Regions from separate parts of the Homo sapiens genome. Here all the other regions are linked to region 1. The links are contacts of gene promoters, found by promoter capture Hi-C in human tissues and cell types (Jung and others, 2019). All regions are on one chromosome and are shown on one strand. The core of a region is centred on a gene start or on the middle of the fragment in contact, and the rest is flanking DNA. Distances in the headings are between cores, read along the strand shown. Region 1 holds the start of CENPB (centromere protein B). Region 2 overlaps RNF24 (ring finger protein 24). Region 3 overlaps ATRN (attractin).

The links. The method cuts DNA at HindIII sites, captures the fragments that hold promoters and counts their contacts. A contact is called where the count stands out against the background at its distance.
Region 2: a fragment that was not itself captured here is called in contact with the fragment with the promoter of CENPB in region 1 in 5 of the 25 tissues and cell types used here (dorsolateral prefrontal cortex, liver, lymphoblastoid cells and 2 more).
Region 3: a contact is called between a fragment that was not itself captured here and the fragment with the promoter of CENPB in region 1, in 6 of the 25 tissues and cell types used here (bladder, dorsolateral prefrontal cortex, lymphoblastoid cells and 3 more).

What each region holds. Positions count from the first base shown.
Region 1 is chr20:3,784,935-3,788,409 of GRCh38, forward strand. CENPB (centromere protein B) reads right to left here and starts at 1,806. Exons shown (of 1, transcript NM_001810.6): 1 at 1-1,806. The coding sequence starts at 1,549. It also overlaps a transcript of CDC25B not described here. RefSeq lists enhancers at 502-1,212, 1,178-1,317, 1,213-1,922 and a silencer at 1,758-2,107. The HindIII fragment of the contact is 8,329 bases long and covers 1,533-3,475 here.
Region 2 is chr20:3,967,152-3,970,626 of GRCh38, forward strand. All of the region lies in intron 1 of RNF24 (ring finger protein 24), which reads right to left. Among named protein-coding and RNA genes, the nearest start is that of RNF24, 47 kb to the right of the region's middle. The HindIII fragment of the contact is 3,961 bases long and covers 1-3,475 here.
Region 3 is chr20:3,649,724-3,653,198 of GRCh38, forward strand. It overlaps ATRN (attractin), which reads left to right. Exons shown (of 29, transcript NM_139321.3): 29 at 1-1,395. Among named protein-coding and RNA genes, the nearest start is that of GFRA4, 12 kb to the right of the region's middle. The HindIII fragment of the contact is 6,966 bases long and covers 1-3,475 here.

The DNA of each region.
Region 1 (3,475 bases), core at 556-3,055:
CTTCCTCACTGTCTGAATCAGAGTCCTCCCCACCTTCCAGGAAATGCAGAGTAGGGCACTGGGCTTCCTCCTGGGCACCATAAGCCCCGAAGCTGCCACCGGCCTCCACTACTCCCTGGGCCCAGTCCTCAGCCTCCAAGCCCTCCGAGGAGCTCTCCTCATCTTCCTCCTCTTCTTCATCACTATCAACATCACCCTCCTCCTCCACCTCCTCTTCCTCCCCCAATTCCTCTCCTTCCCCCCCTTCCTCCTCCTCCTCCTCCCCTTCCTCCTCCTCTTCCTCTCCTTCACCCTCTTCCTCCTCCTCTTCTTCCTCCTCCTCCTCCTCTTCCTCTCCCTCACTCTTGAGGGAAGTGGTGATGGTGGCATTAGGGCCACCCCCAAAGCCAGCCTCACGAAAGCAGGCGGCTATGTCCGAAGGCTCCACTGCCTGCCAGGCGGCAGCCACAAAGTGCAGGGCCTCCGTGAGACCCAGCTGCAGGCCTGAGGGATCCTGGCCCTCTAGCGCGGCCATGGCCTTGAGCAGCATGGCCTGGCGGTAGTGGCCCTTCACCTGCTGGACCACTCCCCTCTCCAGCGGATGCACGGTGCCGGGAGGGAAGAAGGCCAGCTGCACATGCCGCAGGCCCGAGGTGTCCAAGGACTGGGCAGCCAAGCGGCCGGCCAACAGCAGGACCCGGCGAGACTCTGCAGCCATTCGGGTGTCCAAGGCCTTCAAGTACTTGGCCAGGGCCTGGGTGGTGACACCACCCTTGGAGTTGGCGGTGTAGTCGCAGGGCAGGCCGGCTTGGCCTGCGCGGGGCTTGGCCGACTTGCCGGCCACCAGCGGGGGCAGCTTCTCGCTGCCGTCGGCATTGGCGCATAGCAGGACGCTCAGGCGCTGGGTGGCTTGACGCGGCCGTCCGTCGCCTCCGCACAGCCCCGCGGCCTGGTCGGGCAGGAAGTCGTACCATAGACTGGTCTCGGTGGCGCTGAACACGTCCTGCGAGGCGTAGCCCTCGGCCACCGACGGCGGCTGCTCCTCCCGAGCGCGCCAACCAGTAGTGCTCCCGCCACTGCCCTCCGAGGGCACCGCGGCCGGACTGGCAGGCGCCGCCGGGGTGCGGGGGGCAGCGTTTCGCGCGCGGGCGCGGGCCACGCCGCTGCAGGACACCACGCCGTGGCGCCGGCGGAAGCGGTCCAGCCAGCCGTTGGAGGCGGTGAAGTCGTCCATGCCCAGCTCCTCGGCTATGCGCAGCGCCTTCTCCTTGAGGATGATGCCCTTGACCGGCAGGCCGGCGGCGCGGATCTGCTGGAACCAGGCGATGAGCAAGCCCTCGAGCTTGTCGTAGGGAGACAGCTTGTTGGTCTTGCGGCAGGTGGAGGCCACCCCGTACTTGCGCTCCGACGCCAGGATGGCGCGCTTGTTCTTCAGGATCGTGCTCAGCGTGGACGGCGGGATGTTGAAGCGCCGCGCGATCTCGCCCTTGCGCAGGTCCGGATTCTCCTCCACCTCCTGGATGATCCGTGACTTCTCCCGGAACGTCAGCTGTCGCCTCTTGGGGCCCATCCCGGCGCGCCCCCCGCCCCGGGGCCCGGCGCCGCCGCCGCCGCCCCGGGGCGGGGGGCCCGGGCCCGTGGCGGGGGGCACCTGGCGGCCTCTCCCGCGCGCCCCGCCCGAGACAAAGCGGCTCGCGGGCGCGGCGGCGGGGCGACGACCCGGCCGGGCCGGGGGCACCTCCGGGGACGCCGGCGGGCGCGTCGCCGGGCGGCGGGCGGCAGGCGACGGGCGCAGACGAGGGCGGGCGGCGCGGGCGCGGAAGGCAGGAAGTGCCGCGGCGCGGGGAGCTGGGAGCGCGGCGAGCGGGGCGGAGCGGGCGGAGCGGGATCTCGCGGGAAGCGCGGGGACGCCCGGCGCCTCCTCCCCGCCCTCCGCGCCCACCCCCTTCCCGCCGCCGGGACATACCGCGGGGGGGCGCTGCGGCCTGCTGGACCTGCCCGTGCTGCGGCCTCCGGCGACCCGGCAGCGACGCGGGCGGGGACGCGGTGCATCGCTACTGCGCCCGGCGGACAGCGACTTGCTGCTCAAAAAGAATAAGAACCAGGGTTTTTGTTTGTTTTTTTTTTTTTTAATTAAGGTAAAAATAACGCACTTTTTTTTTTGCGGAACCTGAAAAATTCAAGAAGTTGAAAAACGCTTTTCACGTCACCTGGAGAGATGCACAGGTAACATTTTGATACATTTCCTTCCAGTCTTTTCTCTAGATGCATGTCGTTTTCTTTTTAAAAATTTATTATATAAAACTGGCATCAGACTGTATAGACTGTATATCTGGCATCTCCTGCTGTTTTACCTGGCATCAAGTAGTGAGAATTTTGCCATATCGGTAAGTATCATTGCCAACACGCTTTTTAATGATTGTGTAGCATTCCAGCTATGAATGAACACTAGCGTATGTAACCTATTGTTACACACTTAAGTTATTTTTAAAATCAGCATTACAGTTGTAAATCTATTTGATGGTGCTAATGACATTTTTAAAGTTCTAGTAATCCCACAACCCATAGATAAACACTCATAACATCTTGGTGTGTCACTTTCTGGGCTTTTCCATGCATATAGCCATAAATGTATGTGTTTGCACTTACAGAAATAACATCATGTATATACATAAGTGTGAATCCCTGAAGCCTCCCTCTCCTGCAGCAAAACATTAAAATGCCAAGCTCTTAAAACAATGAATGTATAGCTGTGTTTTTAAAAATCTCTTAGGGCAGCACTAAGGGGAACTCCAGCATTGGCAGAGGGGAAGGCTGTGACCCAGGGGGACAGGCTGAGGACCTGGGGCTGGATGAAGCTGTGGGTGAGTGTAGACAAAGAAGAAAAGAGGACCAAGGACAGTGCCCTGGGTCCTCCAAGGTTAAGGGCTCAAGAAAGAGGCCAGGTGCAGTGGCTCACGTCTGTAATCCCAGCACTTTAGGAGGCCGAAGCAGGCGGGACCACTTGAGATCAGGAGTTCAAGACCAGCCTGGCCAATATAGTGAAACTCCGTCTCTACTAAAAATACAAAAAATTAGCCAAGTGTGGTGGCACTCACCTGTAGTCCCAGCTATTCGGGAGGCTGAGGCAGGAGAATCGCTTGAGCCTGGGAGGCAGAGGTTGCAGGGAGCCAAGATCATGCCACTGCACTCCAGCCTGGGCAAAAGAGTGAGACTCCATCTCAAAAAAAAAGAAAGAAAGAAAGAAAGAACCAAATAGAGACTCTTGAAGTGGAGGAGCCCCTGAAGCAGGAGAAAAACCAGGCTACTGTGGCATTCTGGAAGCCAAAGGAAGAAAGTGTAACTCACTGCTGTTTTAGTGCAAATTTCTGTTTTCGTATGTTTCTTGGCCATTTGAATCCTGTGAATTTTCTAGTCATATCCTTTGACCATGTGTTTGTCTTTTTCTTGACTTTTAGGAGCTCTTTACATGCTCTGAAGAAAAGATCTTGTTAAG
Region 2 (3,475 bases), core at 319-2,818, 180 kb after region 1:
TATTTTCACCAGAAGTATTAATCTTTTAAAATAAATTGATAAAAGGCTACATATCATCTTAGTAATATGCATTCTTTGCTATTGAAGTCTTACAAATATAAGTTATTTAGTAATTGCTCCTTGTGGGAGTGAAGAGGAGAAATAGAACATACAGTACACTGTTGTAGCTTACTTGGCATTTCCAACTTCATTCACGTGAAAGCCTTTTTTTCCCCTTATGTAAATTCAGTTCTTGAAATCTCTAGCCTCAGCCTAAATTTCAAACCACCCAGTCAGTTTATTAAAATCAAACCAAAACAAAAAAAAAAGACAAGAAGATTTGAGTATTTTATCAGCAATCTTAGAACCAAGAAGTTCTAAGAGGGACAGATTACTTGAGATTTGGATGCCTACATGACCTGAGTTTAACACAATACACCACAGCTAAATGGGGCTGCAGTAGCATTCCTCAAAGCATGCTTGGTAGCCACATTCTTCTTAGACCAGTTCCTGTTCCCTGGACAATACCATATCATCTTCCCAGGAGTCAATATTCTAGTTTTGCTTCAAAAATGCTCAGAAGTGCCGGGTGCAGTGGCTCATGCCTGTAATCCCAGCACTTTGGGAGGCTGAGGCGGGCAGATCACGAGGTCAGGAGATCGAGACCATCTTGGCCAATATGGTGAAACTCTGTCTCTATAAAAATACAAAAATTAGCTGAGCGTGGTGACGCATGCCTGTAATCCCAGCTACTCGGGAGGCTGAGGCAGGAGAATCCCTTGAACCATGGAGTCGGAAGTTGCAGTGAGCCGAGATTGCGCCACTGCACTCCAGCCTGGCAACAAAAAAAAAAAAAAAAAAAAAAGAAAGAAAGAATAAAAAATGTAACAGGTGGCTGGGTGCGGTGGCTCACGCCTGTAATCCCAGCACTTTGGGAGGCCCAGGTGGGCAGATCACGAGGTCAGGAGTTCGAGACCTGCCTGGCTAATGTGGTGAAACCCCGTCTCTACTAAAAAATACAAAAATTAGATGGGCCTGGTGGCGTGCGCCTGTAATCCCAGCTTCTCAGGAAGCTGAGGCAGATTAGCTTCAACCTGGGAGGCAGAGGTTGCAGTGAGCTGAGATCGCACCATTGCACTCCAGCCTGGGACAGAGCAAGACTCCATCTCAAAGGAAAAAAAAAATGCTCAGAAAGGGGCTGGGTGCAGTGGTACATGCCTGTAACCCCAGTACTTTGGGAGGCTGAGGTGGGAGGACTGCTCGAGGCCAGGGATTTGAGACCAGCCTGGGAGACACAGGGAGACCCCACCTGTACAAATAAAAATAAAAATTAAAAAATTAGTTGGGCATGGTGGCATGTGCTTGTAGTACTAGTTACTCTGGAGGCTAAGATGGGAGGATCACTTGAGCCCAGGAATTCAAGGTTACAGTGAGCTATGATATCACTGCTACGCTCCAGCCTGGGTGACAAAGCAAGACTATCTCTAAAAGAGAAAGCTTTTGACATATTAGAAGGAACTAACTTCTTTGTTATTTATTGAGTATCTTTATGACCACATGAAACACCTTCTGCAAAATCTTTTCTTGAGTGGGTGGATGAGAGGAAAGATTAAAAATTTTAAAAACATGTCACTGATCAGTAGAAAGACCTAAGCTTTCTGATGAAATGGATACACTGGGTTCTAGAGAGAATTATTTTAAAAATAAGACCTATATTTGGACAGATCCTAGTAAAATTTCTGAATTCTAGGATAGAAAAACTGTGATAAGTTTCCAAAAAAAAAAAGTTGTTATAATGGAAAGCATATAGATTTGAGATTTATCCTAGGCCATGAGTATTAGAGTGGGCTTATGGAGTCAGAGAGCCAGGGGTTTAACCACGGATTTGTCAGTAATTTGGGGCTTGTTTCTTATCTTTTCTATGTCTCGGTTTCCTCATCTGATAAGACAGAATAATACTAGTAACTATTTCATAAAGTTTTAAGGGAATTAAATGACTCAACACACGAAAAGCACTTAAAGCACTTAGAACAGTACCTGGGCACATACTGTGTACTTGAGAAATGTTAGTTTTCATTATTAACTAAAATGCAACAATAAAAGATAATGGAATCACTGTCTGTATCTCCATTAAAAGACAGTCAGGTAGACTTCTGACTCCAGAAAGATGGCATAGACATACATTTCCCTATTTATCCAGCTAAATATAACTAAAAACCATGGACATTAAGTTGGACAGAAGGTAGCACACTAACTAGGGACCTGGGGACCCAAGGAACCACATGTTAACGAGTTCTCTGGGCTTTGTTTTTGTCTCCTATATCCCAGACTTAGAGCTGGCAAAGTTGGCAAACAAGAATGTCAACAGGTGAAGACAAAAAAAAAAAAAAGCCCTAATGAACGTGTTCTCTCTAGCCAAAGGATGACAAAAGGAGTAGTTAACAAGACTGAAAGCTTTTAAACAAGAATTGCCCTACTTCAGCTAAACAACCCAGAAAAAACTATGGCCACACCCCTATAGACATGCCAGCAAAGGCTGAAGGCAGAGCCTAGATTTTCACTCTTGCCAGGATGTAACGAGATGCCCCCCAGCCATCTTGCTGGGATAGTGTTAGAAAAGGCCAAGTAGGAAGCTGAAATCTGTTTTTTTTTTTTTTTTGAGATGGCGTCTTGCTCTGTCACCAGGCTGGAGTGCAGTGGTGTGATCTTGGCTCACTGCAACCTCCGCCTTCCAGGTTCAAGCGATTGTCCTGCCTCAGCCTCCCGAGTAGCTGGGACTACAGGCGCCCACCACCATGCCCAGCTAATTTTTGTATTTTTAGTAGAGACAGAGTTTCACCATGTTGGCCAGCTGGAATTTTTACACAACATGGTGAAAATGAGGCTCCACCTCAGTGATATCAGTAGAGACTACATGTGGACCCTGACTTCTACCCCTATCCAGCAGTAACAAAGTGACTATACTCCTCCTCAATGGGGTGATGACAGAGGAGGATCTCGTGAAGAATCGGGATTTTACCACCACCAAGTGGCAACAAGCACTCCTACCTTTTCCAGCCAAAGAGGTATCAGTGAAAGCCTAGTTGAGAGCTGGAACTCCCATTCCTGCCCCGTCCCCGCCCCCCATGTCAATAAAGGCTAAATAGGGAACCTGGACTTCTACCTTTACCTGGCATTAATGAAGCAGCATTACAACCCACCGTTTCACTGTCAGAGTGCTGTCAAAGGAAGCCAGTTAACACATCAGGTTTAAAAAAAATCCAGAGTCTCATAACATAATACACAAAATGTCCAGGTTTCAACTAAAAATTACTCATCGTACCAAGACTAGGAAGATCACAAATCAAATGAGAAATGATAATTAACAGATGCTAATGTCAATGACAAAAATGTTAAAATTATCTGACAAAGATTTTAAAGTAGCCGTCATCAAATTGTTTAAGCAAGCATTTATGAACATGCTTGAAACAAGTGAAAACACTGAAATTCTCAGCAA
Region 3 (3,475 bases), core at 362-2,861, 140 kb before region 1:
TGAGAAATGTTTCTCTTAGTCTTTAAGTTCAAAGACTAACCTGTAGCAATCAGACTTTCCAAAAGGGGGTTCTCCATTTTTTGTAGTTTTGTCTAAATTTTTAATGACCATTTCCTGGAATCAGTTTATTATACTGAAAACTGGGGGTGGGAGTAGGGAGCTAGTTTGTTGATAAATAGTTCCCATTTCCCCATGGAGAATTTGACATACCCTGGACTCCTGTGTGCCTCCTGCCATCCCTGCACACAGCCTGGGGAGAAGCCTGTGCCTCCCCGTGTGGAGAGAAGGCAACCCCAGATCCCCTGAGCTAACCCGGAGGAAAGGCAGTCCTGGACAGAAGACTGTCAGCAGAAGGAAAGTACTGGACTACCCGTGGGTAAGTCCTGCCATTCAAGACTGGAGACACCTGGGAAATAAAAAGAGCAGGGCACTGCTGGTGGGAAGAGGCATTTTACCTTCCAGTGCAAATCCTGCTCCTTTGATTTAATGGGGTGTACTGGGGCCAGGGGCTGATTCACTTCCTTGGGAGATGGTGGTGTTTTCATGAACATCTTTGATCCTTCCATTTCATTTATTCATCCATCCATTCAACAAGTATTTGCTAAACACTAACTTAAGCTAATGCTAGGGTAGTGACTGAGATGTAAAAATAGATTTTAGAATTAAAACAAAATCCAAGTCCTCACACCCCTGTCATCCCAGGAGATCTTTCCTTGTGGTGGTTTCTGTGAGAATTGGCCATCCTGAGGACACAGCCAGGACGGCAGAGGCCTCCTGGCCTCAGGGCATGCCCTGCCTACCTTCTGAAATGTTTACCCCATTGACCAAACTTGGCTCCAGCCATTGCGGTGGTTTCTAGATAGCCAGGCCCACCAAGAGATATTGCCCCTTGATGAGAGTCAAACACCCTGCCTACAAGGAGATGTTTTGAAATGGAGAGGAAAATTGGCACCTCATCTTTTAAAGGCAGTAATGGAATTGATTTTCAGTAACTGAATTTGTGCACAAAACATTCTAAACACTAGTGAAGCCTGTTTCGTTGAACTAATTCTGGCTCTGGAAATGTTTTTGTTTTATAGTTATTTACGATTTCGTTTGTTTGGATTCAAGCTTAGTTTGTTAATATGTATAATTTAGCATCTATTACACTCATGTAAATATGGAGTAAGTATTGTAAACTATTTCATCGCGGGGATTGTGGGTGTTATACATACATTTAGGACTGCAATTTTTTGGTATTTTTTGTATTGTAAAATAACAGCTAATTTAAGCAGGAACAAGAGAACTAAGGGAGGTCTGTGCATTTTAAACACAAATGTGAAGAACTTGTATATAAACAAAAGTAAATACTATAATACAAACTTCCTTCTGAAATAAAAGTAGATCTGGTAAAAATGTGGCTTTTGTTCTGAGTGTTTCATTTTGATTTTGCATTGTTTTGCCTATATTTACATTTTGGTCATTAGAACCTTAAGGGAAAAAAAAAAGCGTTTACCAGTTTTCAGACTGCGTCAGAGGGAGCACTTGACAGTTAACGGAGGTGAGGGTGAAAACCCCTGGCAGGTACCTCAGACAGCCCTCCAGGCAGCTTGTGAGCCACAGACCTTCCACACAGCCTTTGTGTGCCTACAGGGCAGCTGGGCCCGTGGGGGCAGGGACAGATCTGAGCAGTGAGGTATGGACAGCCGTCTCACTGCTCCACTAACCACACCACTGTCTCCAGTGGTGCTGTTATCCCTCCACTTTGCGCTCTCCTCACAGGCTCCTGAATGTCCTCTAGGTTGTCTCCAAACTGCTAAATCTCAGGTGTGCTGACAGGTCTCAGCCGTGGCCAGTGTTTTCCTCGGCCTTGAAGTTTTGAGGAAGTTACTCCCATTGGCAAGGCCTTGTTTGGGGGCCTCCTGTGTGTCCTGCCCCCTTTTATTTGGCTCCTGCCCTCAGAATGGGTCAGAGTCATGTATTTCAGTGCAGAGTGCAGATTCCCAGTGCTAGCAGTTCCTTCCAGAAGGATGAGGTCATTGAAAGAAGGAGGAAACACAAGACGGTCACTCCTGTAGGGGAAGATGGCAGGGTACTAGGGCCAGGGCCTGAGGTGAGGGCAGGAGCCTGGAGGAGGCCTGCCTACCAGAGCTCAGGTCTGGCTTAGGGAGGGAAATGGCTGGACTAGTGGCTGCAAACAAGTTGAGAAGGACCTTGAAACTCTTCCAGGGAGGGTTATGAGAGCCACCAACAGTAACAGGATAGAAACCCTGTGATTTGGTGGTACTGTGGCAGAGACAATGCTGTGTTTACCAAACCTACTGGGCCCACAGCTCATCATTTCCCAGCCTCCCTGCAGTTAGGTTGGGACCAAGCTAAGCCATGGCCAAGGAAAGGTTGGAAGAAGTGATGGGCACCAATTCCAAACGTGGCACACAAATGCTCCCACAGGGGACTCTCCTACGGATCACATGTTAAAGACTGGAGGGACTGTGGGTCCCTGAGTCACCCCTTAGAGGCCGGCCGCCTGATCAGTAAGAGCTGTGCTGGCCTTTGCATCACTGGAAAGCAAACTCACTCTGCTGATCCACTGAGATTTGGGGCTTTGTTACACTAGTTAGCTTTTCTTATTCTCACTAATATACAAATCAGCACTTTGAAGTGCAGTGCACATGTAACCAAACCCTTAAGTACATGGCACTGGCTCAGCGTGTGGCCAGGTGGCGAGCAGTGATAAGACAGGTGCAGCTGGCAGGACAACTGAGGTCCCTGCCAGGCGGAGCAAAACATCTGGTAAGGCCGTTTCACTCGATAACTCGGAAAACAAACTCCATGTCTGCTGACTTTTTGACTTGAGGGGAATAAACAACAACAACAACAACAAATATGTGTTGATTGTTACTGGCTGCTTTTGGCGAGGCATCACGAGAAAAAGTTTACTTCAAGAAAGAATTAGCCAGTTTACAAGCAGAAGGGAAAAAGATGGAAAGATGTTAACCAGGGCCTTGCAATTCTGGAAAAGCCAACTGCTTCTAGTCTCCAACCAGTAAGAGGTGCAGGTGAGCAACAAAGGCCCCATGAGACTTAGTTGAACACAGTGACTGGGCCTCATGGTGACCATCCAATGAAGGGTGTGGTCTTCCCACTGGAGCATGGAAACTGCAAAGCCACCAGCTTGAGGGAGGGGCACGTGGTTAAGGAAGCAAAGAAAAAGCTGACATGAGAACTGTTTCCAGGAACAAACCATGAATGTAGTCACTGACCCTGGACCTGCCTGGAAATAAATAAAGATGTAGTAAATTTAAGAAACCATTAGCAAAGCCTTAAAAAAAAAAAAAAAAAAAAAAAAAAACGGTGGCAATTGAGGAAGTCTTAAATCCACCTTCAGGCAGGAAAATGGTTGTGAAAGCTGTGTCCAGCGAGGGCTTTACAAGCTCAGATGTGGGCCCAAGAGCAGAACTGGGCCTGAGCGAGGACTCCCCCCAGCCCAGGACAG